Linked DNA regions of Homo sapiens: regions 1, 2 and 4 are each linked to region 3. Evidence: promoter capture Hi-C in human tissues and cell types (Jung and others, 2019). All regions are on one chromosome and are shown on one strand. The core of a region is centred on a gene start or on the middle of the fragment in contact, and the rest is flanking DNA. Distances in the headings are between cores, read along the strand shown.

Evidence for each region. Contacts are between HindIII fragments. The study calls those that stand out against the background at their distance.
Region 1: a fragment that was not itself captured here is called in contact with the fragment with the promoter of IL11RA in region 3 in 1 of the 25 tissues and cell types used here (dorsolateral prefrontal cortex).
Region 2: a fragment that was not itself captured here is called in contact with the fragment with the promoter of IL11RA in region 3 in 2 of the 25 tissues and cell types used here (dorsolateral prefrontal cortex and mesenchymal stem cells).
Region 4: a contact is called between a fragment that was not itself captured here and the fragment with the promoter of IL11RA in region 3, in 1 of the 25 tissues and cell types used here (dorsolateral prefrontal cortex).

Annotation. Positions count from the first base shown.
Region 1 is chr9:34,367,460-34,374,750 of GRCh38, forward strand. It overlaps MYORG (myogenesis regulating glycosidase), which reads right to left. Exons shown (of 2, transcript NM_020702.5): 2 at 1-5,547. The coding sequence starts at 5,484. The coding sequence ends at 3,340. Among named protein-coding and RNA genes, the nearest start is that of MYORG, 5.8 kb to the right of the region's middle. RefSeq lists enhancers at 4,369-4,869, 4,870-5,370. The HindIII fragment of the contact is 4,230 bases long and covers 2,641-6,870 here.
Region 2 is chr9:34,999,518-35,006,145 of GRCh38, forward strand. It overlaps the pseudogene LOC100420114. Among named protein-coding and RNA genes, the nearest start is that of DNAJB5, 13 kb to the left of the region's middle. RefSeq lists an enhancer at 3,807-4,307. The HindIII fragment of the contact is 4,415 bases long and covers 2,487-6,628 here.
Region 3 is chr9:34,650,656-34,653,612 of GRCh38, forward strand. IL11RA (interleukin 11 receptor subunit alpha) reads left to right here and starts at 1,530. Exons shown (of 13, transcript NM_001142784.3): 1 at 1,530-1,578. It overlaps GALT (galactose-1-phosphate uridylyltransferase), which reads left to right. Exons shown (of 11, transcript NM_000155.4): 11 at 1-380. RefSeq lists a silencer at 1,486-1,585. The HindIII fragment of the contact is 13,062 bases long and covers 1-2,957 here.
Region 4 is chr9:34,971,252-34,977,894 of GRCh38, forward strand. PHF24 (PHD finger protein 24) reads left to right here. Exons shown (of 8, transcript NM_015297.3): 2 at 44-425; 3 at 1,095-1,280; 4 at 4,901-4,979; 5 at 5,284-5,489; 6 at 5,832-5,992; 7 at 6,295-6,390. The coding sequence starts at 48. Among named protein-coding and RNA genes, the nearest start is that of DNAJB5-DT, 15 kb to the right of the region's middle. The HindIII fragment of the contact is 7,622 bases long and covers 1,269-6,643 here.

The DNA.
Region 1 (7,291 bases), core at 3,506-6,005, 280 kb before region 3:
GTAAAATCAAAGGCTAGTTAGTTACTTCCTAGATACAACGGAGGTACAGGCATTGGCTAAATACACCCATTTCAAGTGGGAGAAGTTGGCCAAAACGAAGTGGCTAAAGGCCCCATGCAAGTCTGAAATCCAGCAGGGCAGTTAAATCTTAAAGCTCCAAAATGGTCTCCTTTGACTCCATGTCTCACATCCAGGTCACACTGATGCAGGAGGTGGGTTCCCATGGTCTTGGGCAGCTCCACCCCTATGGCATTGCAGGGTACAGCCTACTTCTCGGTTGCTTTTACAGGCTGGCGTTGAGTGTCTGTGGCTTTTCCAGGTGCATGGTGCAAGCTGTCAGTGGATATACCATTCTGATGTCTGGAGGACGGTGGCCTTCTTCTGACAGCTCTACTAGGCAGTGTCCCAGTGGGGTCTCTGTGTGGGGGCTTCCCCTTCCACATTGCCTTAACAGAGGTTCTCCATGAGGGCCTCACTCCTGTAGCAAACTTCTGCCTGGACATACATGCATTTCCATACATTCTCTGAAATCTAGGCAGAGGTTCCCAAACCTCAGTTCTTGACTTCTGTGCACCTGCAGGCTCAACACTACGTGGAAGATGCCAAGACTTGGGGCTTGCACCCTCTGAAGCCAAGGCCTGAGCTGTATCTTGGCCCCTTTTAGCCATGACTAGAGCAGCTGGGATGCATGGTACCAAGTCCCTGGGCTGCACACAGCAAGGGGACCTTGGGCCTGGCCCACAAAACCATTTTTTCCCTCCTAGGCCTCCAGGCCTGTGATGGGAGGCACTGCTGCAAAGGTCTCTGACATGCCCTGCAGACATTTTCCCCATGTCTTAGTGATTAACATTTGGCTCCTTGTTACTTATGCAAATTTCTGCAGGGGGCTTGAATTTATCCTCAGAAAATGGGTTTTTCTTTTCTATCTCATCATCAGGCTGCAAATTTTCCAAACTTTTATAGTCTGTTTCCCTTTTAAAACTGAATGCTTTTAACAGCACCCAAGTCACCTCATGAATGCTTTGCTGCTTAGAAATTTCTTCTGCCAGATACCCTAAATCATCTCCCTCGAGTTCAAAGTTCCACAAATCTCTAGGGCAGGGGCAAAATGCAGCCAGTCTCTTTGCTAAAATATAGCAAGAGTCACCTTTACTCCAGTACCAAACAAGTTCCTCATCGCTATCTGAGACCAACTCAGCCTGGATTTCATGTCCCAATCATTATCAGCATTTTGGTCAAAGCCATTTAACAAGTCTCTAGGAAGTCCCAAACTTTCCCACATTTTCCTGTCTTCTGATCCCTCCAAACTGTTCCAACCTCTGCCTGTTACCCAGTTCCAAAGTTGCTTCCACATTTTTGGGTATTTACAGCAGCGCCCCACTCTACTGGTACCAATTTACTGTATAGGTTCATTTTCACAGTGCTGATAAAGACATAACCAAGACTGGGTAATTTATAAAGAAAAAGAGGTTTAATGAACTCACAGCTCCACGTGGCTGGGGAGGCCTCACAAGCATGACAGAAAGGCACGTCTTACATGGCGGCAGGCAAGAGAGAATGAGAACTAAGCAAAAGGGGAAACCTCTTATAAAATCATCAGCTCTCATGAGATCTATTCACTATCACCAGAACAGTATGGCGGAAACTGCCCCCATATTTCAATTATCTCCCACTGGGTCCTTCCCACAACACATGGCAATTATGGGAGCTACAATTCAAGATGAGTTTTAGGTGGGGACACAGCCAAACCATATCAGGTGGGGAAACGGATGCATTCTCTAGGGGGTAGGGGACTGGTTTTGCTACCAGAGCTGTTGATGGAAGCTAAAGTTCACCCTGTTTCCCACCGACCCGCTCTGGCATGCCACTTTTCTCCAGACTCAGCTGCAAAGTCAGAAAAAACTCACTCCGGCTGAGGTTGCTCTTCTTAGAAAGAGAAAATGGCTGGCGTGGTGGCTCATGCCTGTAATCCCAACACTTTGGGAGGCCAAGGTGGGTGCATCACTAGGTCAGGAGTTTGAGACTAGCCTGGCCAACATGGTAAACCCCATCTCTACTAAAAAATACAAAAAGCCAGGCATAGTGATGCATGCCTGTAATCTCAGCTACTCAATCGCTTGAACCTAGGAGGAGGGGTTGCAGTGAGCTGATTGTGCCACTGCACTCCAACCTGGGTGACAGAGCAAGACTCCATCTAAGGGGGGGCGGGGGGAAGAGAAAATGGCTGAGATGAAAGACCTTCCCCTGTCTGTTTATTGGTAGTTGTCAGTGTGTGCATGTAGCCTGTGTTCAGAAGCACAGACCACCAGAGTAAGAACATCACTCCCTTCTAGGCCACACCCCAGGCACATGTGCAGGGGGTGAGGCAGCTGAGGAATCTTGAAAGGGCTATTTATTTCCTACGAGAGTCCTGGGGAAACCGCCTGGGAGGAGGCTGGCTCAGCAATCAGAGCCTCAAATTTGCTCCATGCCCCCTTCCTCCAGATCATCCAGCCTCAGAGAGGTTGTGTTCATTTCATAGATCAGGGACCCATGATGCGTGTTTCTCTCTCTCTCTCTCTCTCACACACACACACGCACACTCTTCAGTTAAGGCACGAAGTCTGGCCTGCATGGCCCTGCAAGTCTGTTCCCATCAGGCACATTTGGCCCAGGGCTGAGCCCATGTATGTACACAAATGGGTTAGTGCAGTGTTAGGAGTCTCTTCACAAATTGGGAACATGATGATGGCTCTGTGCTAAGCCCAGTCCTCCTGTTCCCTGGGAGGGGATCTCTTGCCTCCTTGTCAGCCAAACACCTCCCCAGCTGGACTGGGACCAAATCAGCCACAGTTCAGGTGAGTGCTGGGGACTCAGGGCCTGGCTTCTAACACTAAGAAAACACACGTTCTAAGTGTGGTGGGGGCTATTTGGAGACCTTAAATAAGATCAAGTCCCCACCTAAGATGGACAAAGATGGCCACGAAAGCCAGGAGGGGGAGGTTTCTCTTTGTGCTTTTAAACCCCAACCATGTATAACCATGTATAACAGGAAGAGAGCTGACCTTTTTCCTCTAAGCTCTCTGGCTTCCACCCCAGGGAAGAGGTTTCTGCAGATTGGTGTGAGTGTGGGGGTGGAAAGGGCACAGTAAGGATTGTGCGTTGGAGCAGGAGATTGCTTCAGTGCCCCCTCCCTAGGCCCCACCTTCAGCAGCTGGTTCCAGCACATTTAAGTCAGCAGCCACTTAATGGGTGGTATAGAGGTGGGAGGTTCCTGGGAGTACATGGTGCGGGTGTGACGGAGGGTTCAAGGTCTGCATGAAGACTGGGGGCTTTGCGGTTACCGGGCCCTGGGCTGGGTCAGGACGCCCAGGTAAAGTAGGCGATCTCATCCAGGTCGACCGGGTAATCGGTGAGCAGCACCGGCGTCTTGTCGAAAAGCTCACCCTTGTAGCTGCGCCACTTGCCGGCGGGCAAATAGACGTCGCGCTCCTGCTTGCCTGGCTCCAGCACCGGGGCCACAAGCAGCGTGTCCCCAATAAGGAACTGCGAGTCGATACGGTGAGCTGTCTCGTCGCCGGGCGCAATCCACCAAAGGGGGCGCACGATAGGGTCACCCGTGTCGGTGACCTCGCCCGCCAGCTCAAGCAACAGCGGTGCCACAAGCGAGGCCCGCAGGGCGGCGAACTTCTGCGCGATGGCCACCACTTCCGCGTCGTAGCGCCAGGGCGGGATAGAGAACTGCATGGCCGGCATAAAGGCGGCCACTTCCAGCCAGCGAATGTAGAGCTCGCGCTCGGGCACATCGCCGCCGGCTGTCCGCTGGGGCACGGCGTTGCCGCCCACCATATCGGGTAGGATGAATGGGTAGCCCAGCATGCTGACGGTGAGCACCGCGGGGATGAGTGAGCGCAACCCCAGGTCGTAGCCCCACACAGAGTCGCGATCCACCAGGCGGAAGAAGCAGGAGATGTTCTGTGACTGGTAGCCTACGCGCACCTCCGCCAGCGAGAAGAAGGGCAGCGCCATCTCAGTGTAGCGCCGGCTCCAGACGCTGGGGTCCGGCAGCGGCCGGTAGGTGCTGAAGTCCCGCGGCAGGTAGCTGACCTCGCCCGCGTCGAACTTGAAGGAAGCCACGGAGTAGCGAGAGCGCAGCCGCCGCAGGTGTCCCTGGAACCAGTCGCGGGCCTTTGGGTGCGTGAAGTCTAGCACCGCGCCGATGCCGTTCCACCAGCGCACCAGCGCAGGTAACCGGCCCGTGGGTTCGCGCACGAACAGCTCGCGCTCCACGCCCTCGCCGAAGCGCGACGAGTTGTAGTTGACAAAAGGGTGCACCCAGAGCGTGACGCGGAAGCCGGCGTCGCGCAGGCGGCGGAACATGTCGCTGGCGTTGGGGAATTTGACCTCATCGAAGTCGAAGTCGCCATAAGCAGGTGTGTACATGTCGTCGATTTCCAGGTGGCTGCTGTTGAAGTGGTGCAGGCGGATCTGTTGGGCAAAACGCAGCACCTTGTCCTGGTCCACGGCGCGCCCGTACAGCGCCCATGTGGACCAAATGGGGTCTCGGAAGGCCTCGGGTGCTGGCACCCTTGACGGCTTGTTGAAGTAGCGACGCACCATGTACTTGTGGATGGAGGTGACGTCTGAGCCCACGCACACTCGGTAGCTCAGCTCTGGCGCTGCGGCGCGGCCGGCGGGTGGCTTGTAGGGCGTGTCGTGGTAGCGCGCCTGAAGCCGCAGCGAGCGCTCCGTGCTGTTCCAGCCCAGGTGGAAGGGCACTGAGTCATTGACTTTGATGGCGGCCGCGCGCGAAGATAGCCAGTAGCGCTCGAGGATGCCCCCAAACGCGGCGTCGGAGGAGTAGACATCGCTGGTGACGAACGGCTGGGGCTCCTGCTGGCCATCCAGGCGGATGGGCCAGTGTTGCGTCCTCATCTCGGCGCCACCATACCAGTGGGCCGCCGCGTCGCCCAAGAACATGGCGTGCTCCACGGCCCGGCCCGGCGCTGCCTCCTCCCAGCGCACGCGGTAGCACATGACCGTGTCCTTGGGCCGCACAGTCTGGATGAAGAAGTGCAGCGGCAGCCCGTCGGCCGTGAGCGAGCAGCCCAGCAGGGCGCCATCGCGGCTGCAGGAGTCAAGGTCCAGCGCGCCGGAGCGGAAGGCCAGGCGGAAGACCTGCTCTCCCTTCTGATTGCGGATGGAGAAGCCGCCAGCTTTCAGGTCCAGCAGCTCCGCGCGAAGTCGCTCCGCCTTGCGTAGGGAGACGCTGTAGTAGCACCAGGCCACCACCGCGGCCAGCACAAGCAGCAGCCCCAGAACCGCGGAGCCCAGCAGCGGCTTCAGGTCTTTGGAAGGCTTGGGCTTGGCAGGTGAGAAGTTGTCGGGCAGGAAGGTGTACATAGCTGCGGCTGCGATGGCCTCGGGGTTCTGACGGTATGCGTAGCAGCCAGGCCGGCGGCGGCGGGGGTAGGCCTGGCTCTTCTCCTGAGGGTTCTGGAGCATTAGTGGGCTGCTAAGAAAGGAGCGGGCCGTGGGGCCATCTGACTGAGTTCATCTCAACCTGCTCTGAAAGGAGGAGACAGAGATGGAACTGAGCTATCTCATCCCATGATATTTCCATTTGCTGCCGCAAGCTAAGAGGAGGTGTATACTTTGGGAAGATGAATACTGGAACCTGAGGGCTTGAAGAGTGGCAAAGGTGAGACCCTTACCAGGACAATCTGTGCCTAACCCACCCTTTCTCATGGGACCTAATGCTTGCCCAAATTAGGACTCTGTGACTGGGGAGCGGCCCATGTGACTGGGAGATGGCACCCATCCTCATTTTCCTAGTGGAGAAACAAACCCTGAGAGGGTCAGGAAGCTTTCCAGGATCACAGGATAAGCCAGGCCTCCCCAGATCACACATGGGGCCGTTCGGGCTGAAGAGACGGGAAAGGAACTAGAAAAGTCCTGCTCTCCTAGAGGTGTGGATGGTCAGGGTGGGAGAGGGGGTATTGTCCAGCCAGCTCCTTGAGACTTTTTTTTTTGAAATGGAGTCTCTCTCTGTCACCCAGACTGGAGTGCAGTGGCATGATCTCAGCTCACTGCAATCTCTGCCTCTTGGGTTCAAGCGGGTCTCCTGCCTCAACCTCCCGAGTAGCTGGGATTAAAGGCGCACACCACCACACCTAGCTAATTTTTGTATTTTTGGTAGAGACAGGGTTTCACCATGTTGGTCAGGCTGGCTTCGAACTCATGACCTCAAGTGATCCACCTGCCTCAGCCTCCAGAAGTGCTGGCATTACAGGCGTGAGCCACCTCGCCCAGTCCCCCTTGAGACTTTTAACAGGGCGGTAGGCTAGCTTCCCTGTCCCCAGAGGGGGAGAGGAGGGAGGAAGGGAGAACAGCTCAGGGATGTGTTTTTATCCTGAGTCAAAAGCCTGATGAAGTCTGGAGATTGAAGAAGACACCCAAAGCCAGACTTAGTCCCAGGGCCTGGTTTGGAGGGAGGTAGAGTTGGGTTCAGACATTAGGGCCTGGGGCAGGAGCCTGGCATGGGGGGCCAGTTGTTTCTCACATCTGCTTCTCTTTGCCCTCAAACTCACCCTGCTCTCAGCCATCATCCATCACCAAATCCATTTCCATGCCTGCCTTCCTGCTTTGCTCCTGGCACCACATCTGTGGGCCAGCTACTTCCTCGCTCTGTTTCACCCACTGTCCTGTTTCTGTCATAGTTTGGGCACTGTCACTTCTCCCCTGTATTACCAAACGCTTCCCCCAACAGGCCTCTCTGACTCTAACTTCTTTCTCACCAGTGCCTTCTGATCACGGCAACCATAGTGATCTTTCTAAAGCACTTATCAAACCATATCTATCCCTAGCTTCGAGAGCTGCTCATTGCTTCCATGATGAAATTTAAAAGTGTTTGCTTTGCACTGGAGGCTCCAGGCATGATGTGTTCTCAGCTACCATTCTGATTCCATTTCCAGCCAAGCCTATCTTGTGATTACCAAGCTCGTTCCTTCCCCAACCTAAATCCTTTAGGCCACCTGCTTCAGGAGATTTCACCCACCTAGCTTGGCCCAGCGCACCTCCTCCACCTACCTGCTCTCCAGGGATCAGACACCCACCACTACCACTAACACACATAAACTCTGACACACTATATGCTAAATATCCAGATATGAGGCCATGCACGGTGCTCATGCCTGTAATCCTAGCACTTTGGGAGGCCAAGGAGGGCAGATCTCTTGAGCTCAGGAGTTTGAGACCAGCCTGGGCAACATGTTGAAACCCTGTCTCTACCAAAAATACAAAAAAAAAAAAA
Region 2 (6,628 bases), core at 3,444-5,943, 350 kb after region 3:
AGCCTGGACATTGGAGAGGGTAGCCAGAGGTACCTGGCCTCCTTGGCCCACGCTGGTGAGGCCTGGCTATGGACACAGGCTCCCTGAGAAGCACTGAACACAGCTGCAAATCCTCAAATCTCAGTTATCTAGGGATGTCTGTCCTGGCCTCTGACCTGCCTGTGTCTACAGAGACAACTCTGGCCCTCAGGACCTGAGTGGTGGCTGCATGAGGGGGCACTTGTCCCTTTCCTGCGGTCTGGGTAGAAGGAGCCCTATAGTTGAAGAAATGCCCATCTGCGGGCTCTGCCTAGCCCTGGACATCCTCCTGGGGCTGACTTTGAGCATGAATCCCACATCTTCTCCAGGATCAGGCCCATGACAGTCATGCCCTCCTGAGTGCCAGTGTCCCCAGTACTATCCAGACAGCACTGCCTTTAGCTGGGCCAGGCTTAAGCTGACACTAATTGGCTTTTTTCCCCACAATAAAGACACTGAAAAAAACCTCCTCATCCTTTCACCTGAGGTACTTTTGTACCCCGTTCGAAAGGAGAAAATGTGCAGAAACCAGGGGGTCTTGCTTACAAGGGTATCTGCTAATCCCCTGGCCTGAGCAGGGAGATGCCCGCACCCTACATCCCCTACTCAATGCTCTCCTCCTTTGGGGCTCCTAGGGTAGCCTCTCTCTTGACTTGTGGCTAAATTCTTGTCCAGGATTTTTCCTGAGGCCTGAAGATTTGGGATTCTGGTCTGCTGGGCCAAACTGCTCCCTTTGGCCTCTGTGTAGACACACAAGACCTGGGAAATTATCATGTCCTGCTGAGCACACTCTGGGGATAGGATTTTTTTTTTTTTAGACAGAGTTCACTCTTGTTGCCCAGACTGGAGTGCAATGGCATGATCTCGGCTCATCGCAACCTCCGCCTCCCAGGTTCAAGCGATTCTCTGGCCTCAGCCTCCTAAGTAGCTGGGATTATAGGCGCCCACCATCACACCTGGCTAATTTTTGTATTTTTTAGTAGAGACGGGTTTTCACCATGTTGGCCAGGCTGGTCTTGAACTCCTGACCTCAGGTGACCCTTGGCCTCCCAAAGTGCTGGGATTACAGATGTGAGCCACCGCGCCCAGCCGGGAATAGGATTTTGAGAGCCTAGAAGCAAGGCTATCTGAGGCAAGGGACACTTCAATGAGAAAGTCCTAAGGCTGACTGCAACCTTACCTGCAATTTGAACCTTACCCTTCTTAGAGACTGCATGAGGAATTTCTGCTATTGTGATGCCTGTGTAACCATCCCTAGAGACAGGCATGCATGCACAGAGCTGTAGAAAAGTCAAGATAGTAAAAGAGCTGTGGGAGAGACTAGTTCAATCTGGTCCTGAGGGGTTGGGGTCTTTATCGGGTTTTCTCACATTGATAAGCCCTTGAATGTTTTTATAGTAGGGGTGTGTGTGTATGTGTGTGTGATTTTGTAATGACAGTACTATGACAATCATTTGCTCATCTTGTATGACAGTAATATCCCCTTAAGGCTTGGCCATCCTGGATCTTGGGCAACCAGTATTCTTGGTTGGGGAGTATTCCTTAGTCACCGGAGCTCCTTGACTACTCAGATAGGCATTTATCTCCTGGACATCTTCCTGTTGTGGCTTAGGAACTGAAGTCTCTTTGGACTTCCTACCTCCCTGTCTTCTTCGGCTCTTAAAGAAATACCTAATCTCCCATATCCTTTTCCTAAAGAAAAAACTCCAAGAAGATGCTATGCTCTGTGGTGAGCCCCTTCTGCCTCCAGACAATGCTCCTCCATGGCCAGAGTCTGTTGGGATACAACTCCACTCTCATCTGTTGGGTGTGTCCTGCCTTTGTCTAACTTGAAGTAACTCTGGACTGCCTCTCTTGGCCCTCAAATAGTCCCACTCTGACACGACTTGTCCATGGAGAGGGCAAAAGGAGCTAAAAAGTTTGTTTGCTCTCCTCCTTGAACTCAGGGTCCTCTGGACTTCCTTGCTCACAGTTGAGGAGGCAGGGAAAGGACTTCCAGGGTGGGGGTTGAATTTCTTGTGATCAGCTTATCTCCCGACCTGCCTGTTTGTTTCAAGGAACTAAGCAACCTCAATTTAGCCATCCCTGAAACATGGGTGGCTGAGGGATAAAGGTGGACTTGGGAAAGGAGCCATGATTGGGTCTCTATCACCTTAAGTTTTACAGATTCAGAGACTTTAAAGAGGTAAACTCTATCTCTGCCATGCTCAAAACCATACCACTTAGGCTTCTAGTGCCTGTGTAGCACCTGCATCAAGAAAGGAAAGCTTCCAAGAGGTATTTAGGCAGTGTTCCTGCACTGAGGGTGCCAAATTTCCAGTTTTCAAGTAGCTATAGGACTTCCCAGAAGGGAGCAATATATCACTGTCAGCAAGCTATGAACAACACACATATATAGGCCACCTGCCCAAGTGAACTTTCAGGGTGTTTTCCAGTTGCTTCCAGTCTAGGTTCTCTCTTGAATGCATTTATGTCATTTCCTGACCCATTCCTTGAGTGACTCAACAAGTCATTTTTTTTGGTCTCCTCTGATGAATCAGCCCCCAAAACCCCTACTGAGTAGCTTTCTGAACACCTTGATAGGTTACCTTTGGGACTCTTTCTCAGGCTATGCCTCAGACCCTTCCCTAGGTCATTCTGAAACTTGGCGGGGGGCCCCTCATATGGAAGCTTCTTGGGTGCCCAATCAATTCTTCCTTAGACCCTTGCTGCTTTGACCCATAAGTACCTTGAGGGCTGTAAGAATCTATGATTGTTCCTTAGCTGAGATGTGTCTGTTATTTGCCCTGAGGCTGCATCGGCACCAAAAGCTCTTGGATCCTCTAGGCCAGGACCCACTAGTGCTACATGAGCCTCTTTCAAAAGCAGTGCTCTAGTTGGTTCCAAATATTATTGCTTATAGGAAATTCTCTAGGAAGAATAGAAAATGGCACATAGTCCTGGGAGGCCAGGCTGTACTGAACAAGGTTGGGAGATGGAAGACAAAATTCTTCCTAAGATCTCTGAATTACAGAGTAAAAACTAGAAATTCTCAACAAATGTTGAGCTTCAATTGGGGTGACAGACTATACCTCATTCTGCGTCCTAGGAAAGGATACCCCAGAAGCCTTAATCTGGGGTGAAAAAGAAAGTAATAGGAGCAGGAATGAGGATTGAAGGTGGGCCCAAGGTAGGTGCTGGGATGAAACAGAGTTTGGGGCTGGGGGAGCAGTGGGGAACCTTTAGCCTGTATTTAAACCAGAAAGTGAAAGTGGGCATTAGAGATTCTACTGACTAAAACAAAGAGAGACTCCAGTGCAAAATAATCACCAGAAGTCAGGACAGTAGCCACCAGGGCCTCACTGTGCAGAGGTGAGACTCCAGGAGAGATGGTTCCATCCCCCAAGATTTTGGAATTTGGGAGCTGCTGAGGATGTGCAGCTGCTCTGGTTTGTCTTTGGTGCTCCACAGTGGTTGGGAGCCTATGTTGTCCTGTATGCCAGCAAGTGACTCTAAAATAGTTCCAGAAAAATTTATGTATATACCCCTCCAGCAAAGACTGGTAGACTCATTGGGTGCAATCACTTAATGAAACCTCTGTCTAGTCTTTGGCTAAGCTAGCCAAGCAGACACTTCAGTGGCCACACACAACAAAAAAAAATACACAATTTACACAATTAGTAAAGTCACGACACAAGCAAACAACAATGACAAATAGCAACAACAAAGCTTGGGGTCGGGGTGGGGAGTCTGATTTCCAGAAATGCCACATTATACTTGCCAGGCCTCTGAGCCCAAGCTAAGCCATCATATCCCCTGTGACCTGCATGTACACATCCAGATGGCCGGTTCCTGCCTTAACTGATGACATTCCACCACAAAAGAAATGAAAGTGGCCTGTTCCTGCCTTAACTGATGACATTATCTTGTGAAATTCCTTCTCCTGGCTCATCCTGGCTCAAAAGCTCCCCTACTGAGCACCTTGTGACCGCCCCCCCTGCCCGCCAGAGAACAACCCCCCTTTGACTGTAATTTTCCTTTACCTACCCAAATCTTATAAAACGGCCCCACCCCTATCTCCCTTGGCTGACTCTCTTTTCGGACTCAGCCCGCCTGCACCTAGGTGAAATAAACAGCCTTGTTGCTCACACAAAGCCTGTTTGGTGGTCTCTTCACACAGACGCGCATGAAATTTGGTGCTGTGACTCAGATTGGAGGACCTCCCTTGGGAGATCAATCCCCTGTCCTCCTGCTCTTTGCTCTGTGAAAAAGATCCACCTACGACCTCGGGTCCTCAGACCCACCAGCCCAAGGAACATCTCGCCAATTTTAAATCGGGTAAGCGGCCTCTTCTTACTCTCTTCTCCAACCTCTCTCACTATCCCTCAACCACTTTCTCCTTTCAATCTTGGCGCCACCCTTCAATCTCTCCCTCTCTTACTTTCAATTCCTTTCATTTTCTGGTAGAGACAAAGGAGACACATTTTATCCTTGGACCCAAAACTCTGGCGCCAGTCACGGACTAAGGAAGGCAGCCTTCCCTTGGTGTTTAATCATTGCAGGGACACCTCTCTGATTTTTCACCCATGTTTCAGAGGTGTCTGACCACATGGGGACACCTGCCTTGGTCCTTCACCCTTAGCAGCAAGTACTGCTTTTCTAGGGGGCAAGAACCCCCCAACCCCTTCTCTCCATGTCTCTACTCCTCTGCTTTTCTAGAGGGCAAGAACCCCCCCAACCCCTTCTCCTTCACCCTTAGCTGCAAGTACCACTTTTCTAGGGGGCAAGAACCCCCCAACCCCTTCTCTCCGTGTCTCTACCCCTTCTCTGCTTTTCTGGGGGCAAGAACCCCCGATCCCTTATTTCTGTGCCCCAACCTCTTATCTCTGTGCCCCATCCCTTATTTCCACGCCCTGACCCCTTATCTCTGAGCCCCGATCCCTTATTTCCATGCCCCGACCTCTTATCTCTGCGCCCCGATCCCTTATTTCCGCACCCCAACCTCTTATCTCTGTGCCCCGATCCCTTATTTCCACACCGCAATCCCTTATTTCCGCACCCTGACCTCTTATCTCTGCACCCCAACCCCTTATTTCTGTGCCCCGACCCCTTTCCTGCTTTTCTGGAGGGTAAGAACCCCCGAACCCCTTCCCTCCGTGTCTCTACTCTCTTTTCTCTGGGCTTGCTTCCTTCACTATGGGCAACCTTCCACCCTCCATTCCTCCTCCTTCTCCCTTAGCCTGTGTTCTTAAGAACTTAAAACCTCTTCAACTCTCACCTGACCTAAAATCTAAGCATCTTATTTTCTTCTGCAATGCTGCTTGACCCCAATACAAACTCAACAGTAGTTCCAAATAGCCAGAAAATGGCACTTTTAATTTTTCCATCCTACAAGATCTAAATAATTCTTGTCATAAATTAGGCAAATGGTCTGAGGTGCCTGACGTCCAGGCATTCTTTTACACATCGGTTCCTCCCTGGTCTCTGTTCCCAATGCAACCAGTCCCAAATCTTCCTTCTTTCCCTCCCACCTGTCCCCTCAGTCCCAACCCCAAGCATCACTGAGTCTTTCTAATCTTCCTTTTCTACAGACCCATCTGACCTCTCCCCTCCTCACCAGGCAGAGCCAGGTCCCAATTCTTCCTCAGCCTCTGCTCCCCCACCCTATAATCCTTTTATCACCTCCCCTCCTCACACCTTGTCCGGCTTACAGTTTCATTCCTCAACCAGCCTTCCCCCACCTGCCCAGCAATTTCCTCTTAAAAAGATGGCTGGATATAAAGGCATAGTCAAGGTTAACGCTCCTTTTTCTTTATCCGACCTCTCCCAAAATCAGTTAGCGTTTAGGCTCTTTTTCATCAAATATGAGAAACCCAGCCCAGTTCATGGCTCGTTTGGCAGCAACCCTGAGACGCTTTACAGCCCTAGACCCTGAAAGGTCAGAAGGCCATCTTATTCTCAATATGCATTTTATTTTATTACCCAATCTGCTCCCGACATTAAATAAAACTCCAAAAATTAAATTCCAGCCCTCAAACCCCACAACAGGACCTAATTAACCTGGCCTTCAAGGTGTACAATAATAGAGTAGAGGCAGCCAAGTAGCAATATATTTCTGAGTTGCAATTCCTTGCCTCCACTGTGAGACAAACCCCAGCCACATCTCCAGCACAAAAGAACTTCCAAACGCCTAAGTCGCAGTGGCCAGGCGTTCCCCCAGGCCCGCCTCCCCCAGGAGCTTGCTACAAGTGCCAGAAATCTGGCCACCAGGCCAAGGAATGCCCGCAGCCCACGATTCCTCCTAAGCCGCGTCCCATCTGTGCAGGACCCCACTGAAAATCAGACTGTTCAACTCACCTGGCAACCAGTCCCACAGCCCCTAGAACTCTGGCCCAAGGCTCTCTGACTGACTCCTTCCCAGATCTTCTCGGCTTAGCAGCTGAAGACTGAAACTGCCCGATTACCTCAGAAGCTTACAGGACCATCACAGATGCTCTAGGTAACTCTTACAGTGGAAGGTAAGCCGTCCCCTTCTTAATCAATATGGAGGCTACCCACTCCACATTACCTTCTTTTCAAGGGCCTGTTTCCCTTGCCTCCATAACTGTTGTAGGTATTGGCGGCCAGGCTT
Region 3 (2,957 bases), core at 280-2,779:
CTACAACTTTTCTTTGTCTACAGATGTGTAAAATCTTGATGCAAAAATCTACCCCAAATTTCTGAACAAAATTAATATTCAGTATTATATCTAGCCTATAGATTCTCTTACTCTTGGTGTAATGACAGCATTCCCAGTTTAGGAAACTGTTTTAAAATCTTGTGTCTTGGTTGTGGCTGAGGCTTTGGGAAGGCCAGAGCCCCCTTTGCCACCACCCCTAGGGTGTCAGCTCCAAGCCTGGGCCTGAGGGTTTGATGGGGAGCGGGTGAGCTGGATCCTGATCCCAGTGGTCAGTGGCCAGATCCTGGGCTGCTGGCCAGAACCCTGGCTTTGTGAGTGGCTGCAGCTTGGCTCTGCTCCAGCCCACAGGGGCTAAAGGGGCGGGTAGGGAGTGTGTAGGGAGCGTGTACGTGGCTTTGTGTCCTTGGCTCCTCCAGACTCTCACATGTGCGGGCACCATATACTTCTGCTGCCCTTGTGCCCCAATCATTGCACAAACAGAAACAGCTCTGACAGAGAAGGGACTGCTAGAGTTAGGAACCCTAGGGCCTGGAAGGAAGGTATGGCTCTCAGAGTGACCTGGGGTCTATTCAGTCCCCTCTGGACCTGTTTCCCTGGCAACGCTGTGGGAACAACAGTCTATGCAACACAGGAGACCTGATGCCACTGGTGTCCTCCAAATTTTAAGGCGAAGGCAGGCATTGTGAATGATGCAGGGATGGCCAGAATGGTTTTTGCCTTCGTTCTTTCCCCAGGGGAACCAAGCCTGTGGGTGGGGAAATCACACTAAGGCTGGACAGTGACTGAATCTGGCCCAGGAGAAACTTGGCTGCCTGCCTTCCAGACCAGGGTTTTTCTTCCCTGAGATCCTGGAGGGGAAGTACCTGGAACTTGGGAGTGTTGCCCTGGTCTGGAAGATCTGATAGACATAGTATGCACACATTTCCCTCGAGCTTCCCATGACTGGGGAGTAGATGAGAACCCTGAGTGGGTGGCTGGTTTCTTGAGGCATACATATACCCGACACACCTTACACCTCTGATTTGGCTGCATTTTGGAATCATCTGGGAAGTTTTAAACAATACTGGTGCCTAGGTCCAACCTCCAGAGACTCTGATTTAATTGGTATGGGGTGGGGTTTTGCAGTTTTCAAACCACAATATCCAGCAAAGTTTGAGAACCACTGCCCTACACAGCCCTCCTTCTTCTTTATCTTATCTGGAGTCAGGGGCACCTTCAGCTTCTCCAATCACCTGGCCAGTGGCTCTTGTTTCCAGTCCTGCTGTTCCAGGGTGGATAGGCCTTCAGGCGGAGACCCAGGAATCCAGCTCCAGACTCTGTCCCAAGCAGCCTCTTCAGTCCGGGACGGGACAGGAAGTGTCCGGCGGAGGTGGGGGTGGAGGTGATTGGCAGTTGGAGTCTCCAATGGGCCAGGAGCCCCCCTATTTCACTCCTCTCCTTCCATTGGCGCCTGGGCGGAGCCACCCCCGCTGCGGGGGCCCAGGGCGGGAGGGAGTAGAGGCCGGGGCAGAGGGCGAGGGCGAGGGCAGAGGGCGCTGGCGGCAGCGGCCGCGGAAGGTGAGGCCTGGTGTAGACGCCAAAGTCTTGTCAGGAGTGGGCGGGGCAGGGTGATGTATGATCTGAAAGGCCGGGAGTGACTAACGACTGTCAGTGTGTATGTGCCTGTGAGGCTGTGTCTGTGTGACAGTATCATTGTGTGCGATTCTGAGTGTCACTTGGTGCAGCTGTCAGCTAATGTGACTGCGTGTGTCAGTGTGCATGGAGCTGGAGGTGCATGTGGCTGTGCAAGTGTGGGATTATGTGTGTATCTGTCAATGCACATTTTTGGTGGGACTGGGTTGTGTGTTTGTGTGAGAGGGACTGTGACCACATGAGGGAATGTGTTTTGGGAAGGTCTCTGTGGGGTTTGAGACCATGTCTGCCAGCGTGAGAGTGGGTGGCTGGCTTTGTGTGTGCCAATGTGTGACTTCAGCAGTAGCAGAGCAAAAGTGAGGTTTGTGACTATGTGTGTGTCCTGGGTCCTAACTTAAACCGTGTGGGAGTACAGCTGTATTCATGTATTGGGGGACCTACCTCAAGAGCCCATGGGACTGACCTTTCTCTTAAGTGTCCAGCATTGACAGACACACCCACAACACACGTGGCTTCCCCTCCTTCCTCTGCTCAAGAATCCCCAGCATCAGGTCTACTGCTCCTTATTTTCTGTTTCCCTGCTTGGCTCAGTTTCCCTTACGTGCCGTTTTCTGTCCCTATTGCTGTCTTACTAGAGATACCTCTGTGTGTTTCTTCACAGCTTTGTTCCCCTGGTCTCTCTGTGTGGGTGCATTTCCAGTTTTGCCTTTCCTTTCTCTCTGTCTCTCTCTGTGCCCCTATGCCTGCCTTCCCTGCTGATCTTGATCTCTGGCTAGTTGGGGGCCTGTAACAGTGATGAGATGCGGGTCTGCCCCGGCTAAGAGCTCCCTGAGAGAGGGGGCTTAGACCATGATGAAGAGTTGCTTTTAGGCGGTGCTGTGAGCCCTGGTAGGGGCTGTGTGCGTGTGTGACTGCGTGAGTGTATGAATATGTGTAAGTGTGTCTGAGTCTGAGGCGGTGTGGCTGTGCCCGTGTGACTGTGAGTGACCGCATGTGAGAGTGTATGAGTCTGAGGGTAACTGTGGGTCTTGTGTATCTGGCACCAAGGGACCAAAGGCATTTCCTGGTGCTGGGGCCCAAAGAATGGAGGGGGAGGTGAGAAATGGCTGGAACTTCCAGGGGAGGGGGAACTGGACTCTTTGGCCTCTCCTTATATCCCCCAACCTGGGGCCTCCCTTCCCCTGGAAGCACAGCCAGCTGTACCCTAAGGAAACATTTGGTGAGGAGTGAAAAGAGGGGGAGTTTGTATCTGATTTTTCATTTGATTGTGTCCACGTGTGTTCAAAGGCATGCCCTTTTGTTAA
Region 4 (6,643 bases), core at 3,830-6,329, 320 kb after region 3:
CAGCCATTGGCTGAACCTGTGCCCCTCTGCTTTTTGTCCACAGAGCCATGGGGGTGTTGATGTCCAAGCGGCAGACAGTGGAGCAGGTGCAGAAGGTGAGTCTGGCTGTGTCTGCTTTCAAGGATGGGCTGCGGGACAGGCCTTCCATCCGACGCACAGGTGAGCTGCCAGGGTCCCGCCGTGGCACTGTAGAGGGCTCCGTCCAGGAGGTACAGGAGGAGAAGGAAGCAGAAGCAGGAACCTCGGTGGTCCAGGAAGAGAGTAGTGCCGGCCGCGCAGCCTGGGAGCGGCTCCGAGATGGGCGCGGCGTGGAGCCTGAGGAGTTTGACAGGACAAGTCGATTCACACCCCCTGCGTTCATCCGCCCCACCCGGAAGCTGGATGATGACAAACCTCCAGAAATCTGCCTGGAGCCCAGAGAGCCTGTGAGTATCCAGTTAGGACAGGATCCTCAAGTCTTAGTGCATCAGGGAGCAGGACAGGGAAGATGGATGTGGGTAAGGTGATCCTCAAAACCGGAAAAATGGAGCTGAGTCCAAAAAAATCTTTGAATTTCTTCTGTAAGAATAAAATGTTTGTTATATCCTGGATTCATCTTAGTGAAAGGCTTGGGGCAATGGATGATAAAGAATGATGCTGTGGCAGGTCTTCTGTCGAACCTCCCCCTCTTCCCCGCTGCCATGGGTTTTCAACCATGGATAGTACTACACCCTGCGGGAGGCAATTGGAAATTTGGGAGGGAGGAGTTTGGGGAGGTCACAACACCAGGTGGCTACTGGTGTTTGGTACCAAGAAAAGCAGGGATGATAAATGTCCTGCAATGCCTGGAACAATCTCTCACAACAGATTGTTCTTTCTAAAAGTGCTAGTAGCTCCCTGTTCATAAACATGGTCACAAAGACATGAGCAGCTGGAAGGACCTCCTGGTTCTTGTCGTCCAGAAAGAAAACCTCAACAATGGCTTCAGTTGGGGCTGTTCCTCTAGGCTAATCTGGGAAGACTCAGCCCCATGCAGGTAGCTCTGTGCTTAGTGGCCTTGGAATCTTGCTGCCTACATTTACACATCCCTGTTTCCTCCTGCCATCTTTCTGCAGGTTGTCAACGATGAGATGTGTGATGTTTGTGAGGTCTGGACAGCTGAGAGCCTCTTCCCGTGCAGGGTCTGCACCAGGGTTTTCCATGATGGCTGCCTGCGCCGCATGGGCTACATCCAAGGAGACAGTGCAGCGGAGGTGACGGAGATGGCCCACACAGAAACAGGCTGGAGCTGCCACTACTGTGTAAGTCTGGACTGCAGGGACAGCAGAGGACTTGGCACTTTTCCTGGAGGCCCGGTCTTAGAACACTTGATTTTAGGCAGTGACCTAAAGAATTTTCCAATGGGCTGGGCGCGGTGGCTCATGCCTGTAATCCCAGCACTTTGGGAGGCCAGTGCCGGAAGATCACGAGGTCAAGAGATTGAGACCATCCTGGCCAACATGGTGAAACCCCATCTCTACTAAAAATACAAAAATTAGCTGGGCGTGGTGGCACGCGCCTGTAGTCCCAGCTACTCGGGAGGCTGAGGTAGGAGAATCACTTAAACCCAGGAGGCGGAGGTTGCAGCGAGCCGAAATCGCGCCACTGCACTCCAGCCTGGCGACAGAGCGAGACTCTGTCTCGAAAAAAAAAAAAAAAAAAAGATTTTTCCAATGGTACATACAAGAGACCTAGAGCTAGGATGGGGTTTCTCAACCTCAGTACATTTTAGGCTGGCTAGTTACTTGTTTGAGGGGCCAAGTGCATTGTAGGATGTTTAGCGGCACCCTGGCCTTAATCCCCTAGATGCCGGTAGCATACATCTCAATGTGAAGGTAGCAAAATCACCCCCGGTAGAGAACCTCTGAGCTAGGAGATTGACTGGGGCCTAATTACTCAAAAGTAATTCTGCTTGGAGCAGTTCTTTCTCTAATAGTCTATAGTTGTCATTCATTGTATCCATATGAAAACTAACCTGAGATCCTAACCAGCTTGCTTCCAGTAGGGGTAGATTCTATCACAGGAAAACTTCCTAGGCCTGAGATCCTCACTCAGCCTGCCACCTGACTCATAAGCATTTGCTCTTCCTCTTTGAAGTGGTTATTATGTGAATTAAATGACAAAGCTCTATTGATTCAGAACTTCGCAAATTATATATAAATGCCTTCTAACTTTTAATGAAGGACAGAGTCTAAGGTTTCCATTGAAAGCCAGATTTATATCCATTTCTCACTACACCTGAATAGAGTTCAAGTCTTGCCTTATTGATCTGTTGTCCTGCAGATATCGTCATTGTTTATTGATTTCAGAGTGAGGAGCACCTGCTGATCCCCCCTTCTTCCTGCTGCTTAGACGAAAGCAGAGATGTGCCACTTTCTAACAAATAACTCTTCCTCTATGGCTTGTTATGGAACAGCTATTTTCAGCCACTGAAACACCTGTCCCCATGGAGTACACTGCAGCAGACCCTGCTGTACCGGCGACCTTCTCTAGTGCCTGTCACCCCTTCCAAATGCCATCCTTTCATCTCGGCCACTCTGCTTTGCGGTGTGCTGCTGCTATAGGACTGGGGTGAAGGGGTCACCTCCCTAACCCCCAGGAACACACTGCTCCCTCCCCAGCTTCCTGACACAGTCCTACCATCATTGCCACCATGCTCCACTGGGCTTTTTACAGAGCCTCCTTCCAAGTACCTCTCCTTTCTTTCCTTCCCTTCACAGCCAACAAATCTTCTTCTTCTTTTTTTTCTTTTTATGAGACAGGGTCTCACTGTGTCACCTGGCTGAAGTGCAGTGGTGCGATCGTAGCACTGCAGCCTTGAACTCCTAGACCTAAGCAATCCTCCTGCCTCAGCTTCCTCAGTAGCTGGGACTACAGGCACAAGCCATTGCACCTGGCCCCACAGCCAAACTTCTTAAAAGAATTTCACCATCTCCTATGGTTTTTCAACCACCTATCATATAATCTGACATCTGCATCCATCATTCTGCAGAACTGTTGCTTCCTAAGGTCACCAGTCACCTCCTAATTGTCAAGTCCACTGACCTTTTCTGAGGCATCTTCTTACTTGATCTCTCTGAAGTATTTATTACTTCTTTATTCCTCTCTCTTTTCTTTAGGATTTAAGTATTTTTATGAGAATTATTGCATAAGATATGGAAATGAGAGAAAATAGAAAGTCAATAAAATCCCACCTCAGTGGTGTAACCACCGTTAACATTACCTCCCACATTCTGCAGCTGTCTTTGCTTGGTATCCAGTACCTTCTTCTCTACTGATGCTCTTCCAGCCTTAGTCTCTGACCATTCTTTCTCAATGCCCTTTGTTAGTTTCTTGTCTCAGTCCTGTTTCTCAGGGTTCTGTTGTTTAATACTCTTCTTTTCTCACTGCGCCCTCTTTGGTGACTTCATCTACAGCCACCATCTAAACACTAATGACTCCTATTTCTGTGTGTCCAGACCTAAATTTCCTGTCTCTTGCACTTATCCACCTTGATATCTCACAAGTACTTCACACTCATCATGCCCCAAAATGAACTCATCTTTGCCCCCAAACCTGCTCTTCCTCCACTCCTTATCTCTGTGAATAGTAATACCATGCCCCAGTTACCAATTCCAGTTCAATCTCTCCCTCATGCCTCACATCCAGTGAGTCATCAGGTCCTGATGATGCTGCCTCTAATATCTCTCTTCCCTTCTTCATTCTCATGTCTCAGTTTAGCTGCTCATCATTTCTTGCCTGGACTGTTGCGGCAGCCCCCAACTGCTCTCCACACCTCCAGACTCTGCCGCTCTAATCCATCTTCCACACAGCAGCCAGAGATCTGACCACGGCACTCCCCACTTGAAAACCCTTTGGTGGCTCCCTTTTGCCCTCAGAATAAAGGCCTAATTTGAGGGGCTCGATAAAGGGTATTGGAGGTACTTCATAGTAGGCCCCCTCCTTCCCTCACACACACACTCACATGTACTCCAAACCTCAGCCACACTGAACATCTCACAGTGTTACACACCACTGTGGCGCCCAGTGTTTACTAGGTGCTCAGTAGGTGTTTATTGAAAGTATGGTTTGAAAGAAAAATACAACTATTATATATTAGTTTTTAAAAAGTGTTATGGAAGAAAAAGAATGGTTTGAGTTCTTTATGAAATCCACGTATGAATACTCATGAAATATCTGCTCTTGTACTTTGCGGGTATCTCAGAGGAAGAAAATGACCTTGTACTAGAAAGGATCTTTGATAGTTTAAAGACTGTATGGTAACGTCAACACAATAAGATATTGGTGCTCCTTTGGAATTAAAACTTCTGTGGCACTACAAAAAAACTCATTTGGCTTTAGGAGCCTTGTAATAATGGCATCTTTTAAAACCATTCTGGGGTTATTTAAAGTGATACAACCCACTTGGAGCAGAGCTAGGATTAAACTTTTTTTTTTTTTAACTAAAATACATTTTTAGCACAGCCTAACACAGAAGCCAAGTAGATAAAAGGGATGGAGATGGAGCCGCTCTGCTTGATGGAGATAGGGATTCACAACCTGCCTACTCACTAGCCCCCTTATTCCCTGCAGCAGCTTCCTAAGGCACTTCCAAGAAATCCCTAGGTTAGCTCAGAGGAGAAAACCACTGTTTTAGTAAAGGGACTCAGTGCTGGAGTCAGGATATCTGGGTTCTTGGGGAAGATTCTGCCCCAGAGTAAAGACAACTCTGGCCAAGTCCTTTCTCCTCTCTGGGGCCTCAATCTCATTGATTGTGAATAGGAGGCTGGGATTAGATGATCTTGGAACTGCTTTCCAGTTGAAATTCTATTTCTAGCCCCCTTGACCCTGGCCTTTCTTACTGGCCTGTATGGCCACCGACTCAGCTCTTCCTTATTTTCAGGACAACATCAACTTGCTGCTTACTGAGGAGGAAATGTATAGCCTCACGGAGACCTTTCAGCGGTGTAAAGTCATCCCTGGTAAGGTTGGGTGGTGCTGCATGGATGGAGAGGGGCCGGGCAGATTTCTCCTTCAGGCTTTCTAGAATGAACCATGAAAGGAGTGTTCCATATTTAGTGGGTAGAGGGTAAATGAGTCCTTGTTCCTGAGTTGTTGGCCAGCAGAGTCACCTATCCCTGTCACAGCCTGGGTGACCCTGGCCATGGGAGGCAGAGACTTAGCAAGAGCTGTGGGTTTGGGGGCCCCGAGGGTGCCCTGGAGGTGATGGAGGTGCCCTGAGGCTGAGGAAGGATGGGCATGGCTAGCACGGGGTGCCTCCCACAGATTGCTCCCTGACACTGGAGGACTTTCTGCGTTACCGCCACCAAGCAGCCAAGCGGGGGGACCGTGACAGGGCCCTGAGTGAGGAGCAAGAAGAGCAGGCGGCCCGCCAGTTTGCTGCCCTGGACCCTGAACATCGAGGCCACATAGAGTGGCCTGACTTCTTGTCCCATGAGTCCCTCCTGCTTCTGCAGCAGTTGCGTCCCCAGGTGAGGGCCAGTTGGGGCAAATGTTCCTGGGATACTGGGTGACAAGGGCCTGGGAGGCACGCTGGGCAGATTGGGGGAGCACTGGGTCCTGCTCAAGCAGGGACAAGTATCAGGAATGGGCTCAGGTTCCATCCAGTGACAGATGATCTGGTGCCCAGGCTGAGGAAACTGCGTGAGGAAGACTGATCTGCCCTGGGCCGCACTGGAAGTGCTGATGCCTCCAGAAGGGCTCTGGGCAGCTTCTAAGGGAGGTTGCAAAGGTGGTAATGGAGATAGGATTCTCTATGGCTTGGCAGTTTACAAGATATCTTCACCTCTAAGATCTTGTCTCTTCTTCCCCAGAACTCTCTGTTGAGGCTTCTGACAGTGAAGGAGCGGGAGCGAGCCCGAGCCGCCTTCCTGGCTCGGGGCAGTGGGAGCACCGTCAGTGAGGCAGAGTGCCGCCGGGCCCAGCACTCTTGGTTTTGCAAACGGTTCCCAGAGGCTCCTTCCTGCAGTGTCAGGTCTGCTCCTTACCAGTCCTGGTCCCCACTCAGCCTCTCCTCCTCCCTTTTCCATGCCAGTGGCCCTTCCATACCTCCCTGCTCCCCCTGCCAACAGCCGAGAGAGGAGCCTCCTGTGCATTAGGTAGAGGATGGTGATGCCTACGGGCCAGGGCATAGGACAGCCTCTGCCTTCAACTCGGTGTTGCCACATGTCAGAAGAGCCTGGATGAGCATGTCCAGAGCCTTGGGCTTACCAGAGTTTGGGAGGGGGCAGGCATTTCACTATCCCACTCCTAACCACGTGTCCTCATGCCCAGCAGCATCAGCCATGTGGGTCCCATCGCAGATAGCAGCCCAGCCAGCAGCAGCAGCAAGAGTCAGGACAAGACCCTGCTGCCCACAGAGCAGGAGTCCAGGTGAGTAGGACCTCCTCACCTGGCCATTTGTACCCTCTGAACCCCCACAAAACACACAAGTAAGAGAGGGCATTACCCACTCCCACTCCAAAACAGCAAGCGCCCACCCAAGAAACCAGGCTCCAAGAGTGCACATTTGACCCAAGTCTATAGGACCAGCCAGCTGGTCTGTTGGCCTGGTAGCACAGCCAGCCATAGCCAGGTCAGGCATGAGCCAAGCTTCCCTGAGTTTTGTGTAGCTCAAGCCATGCTG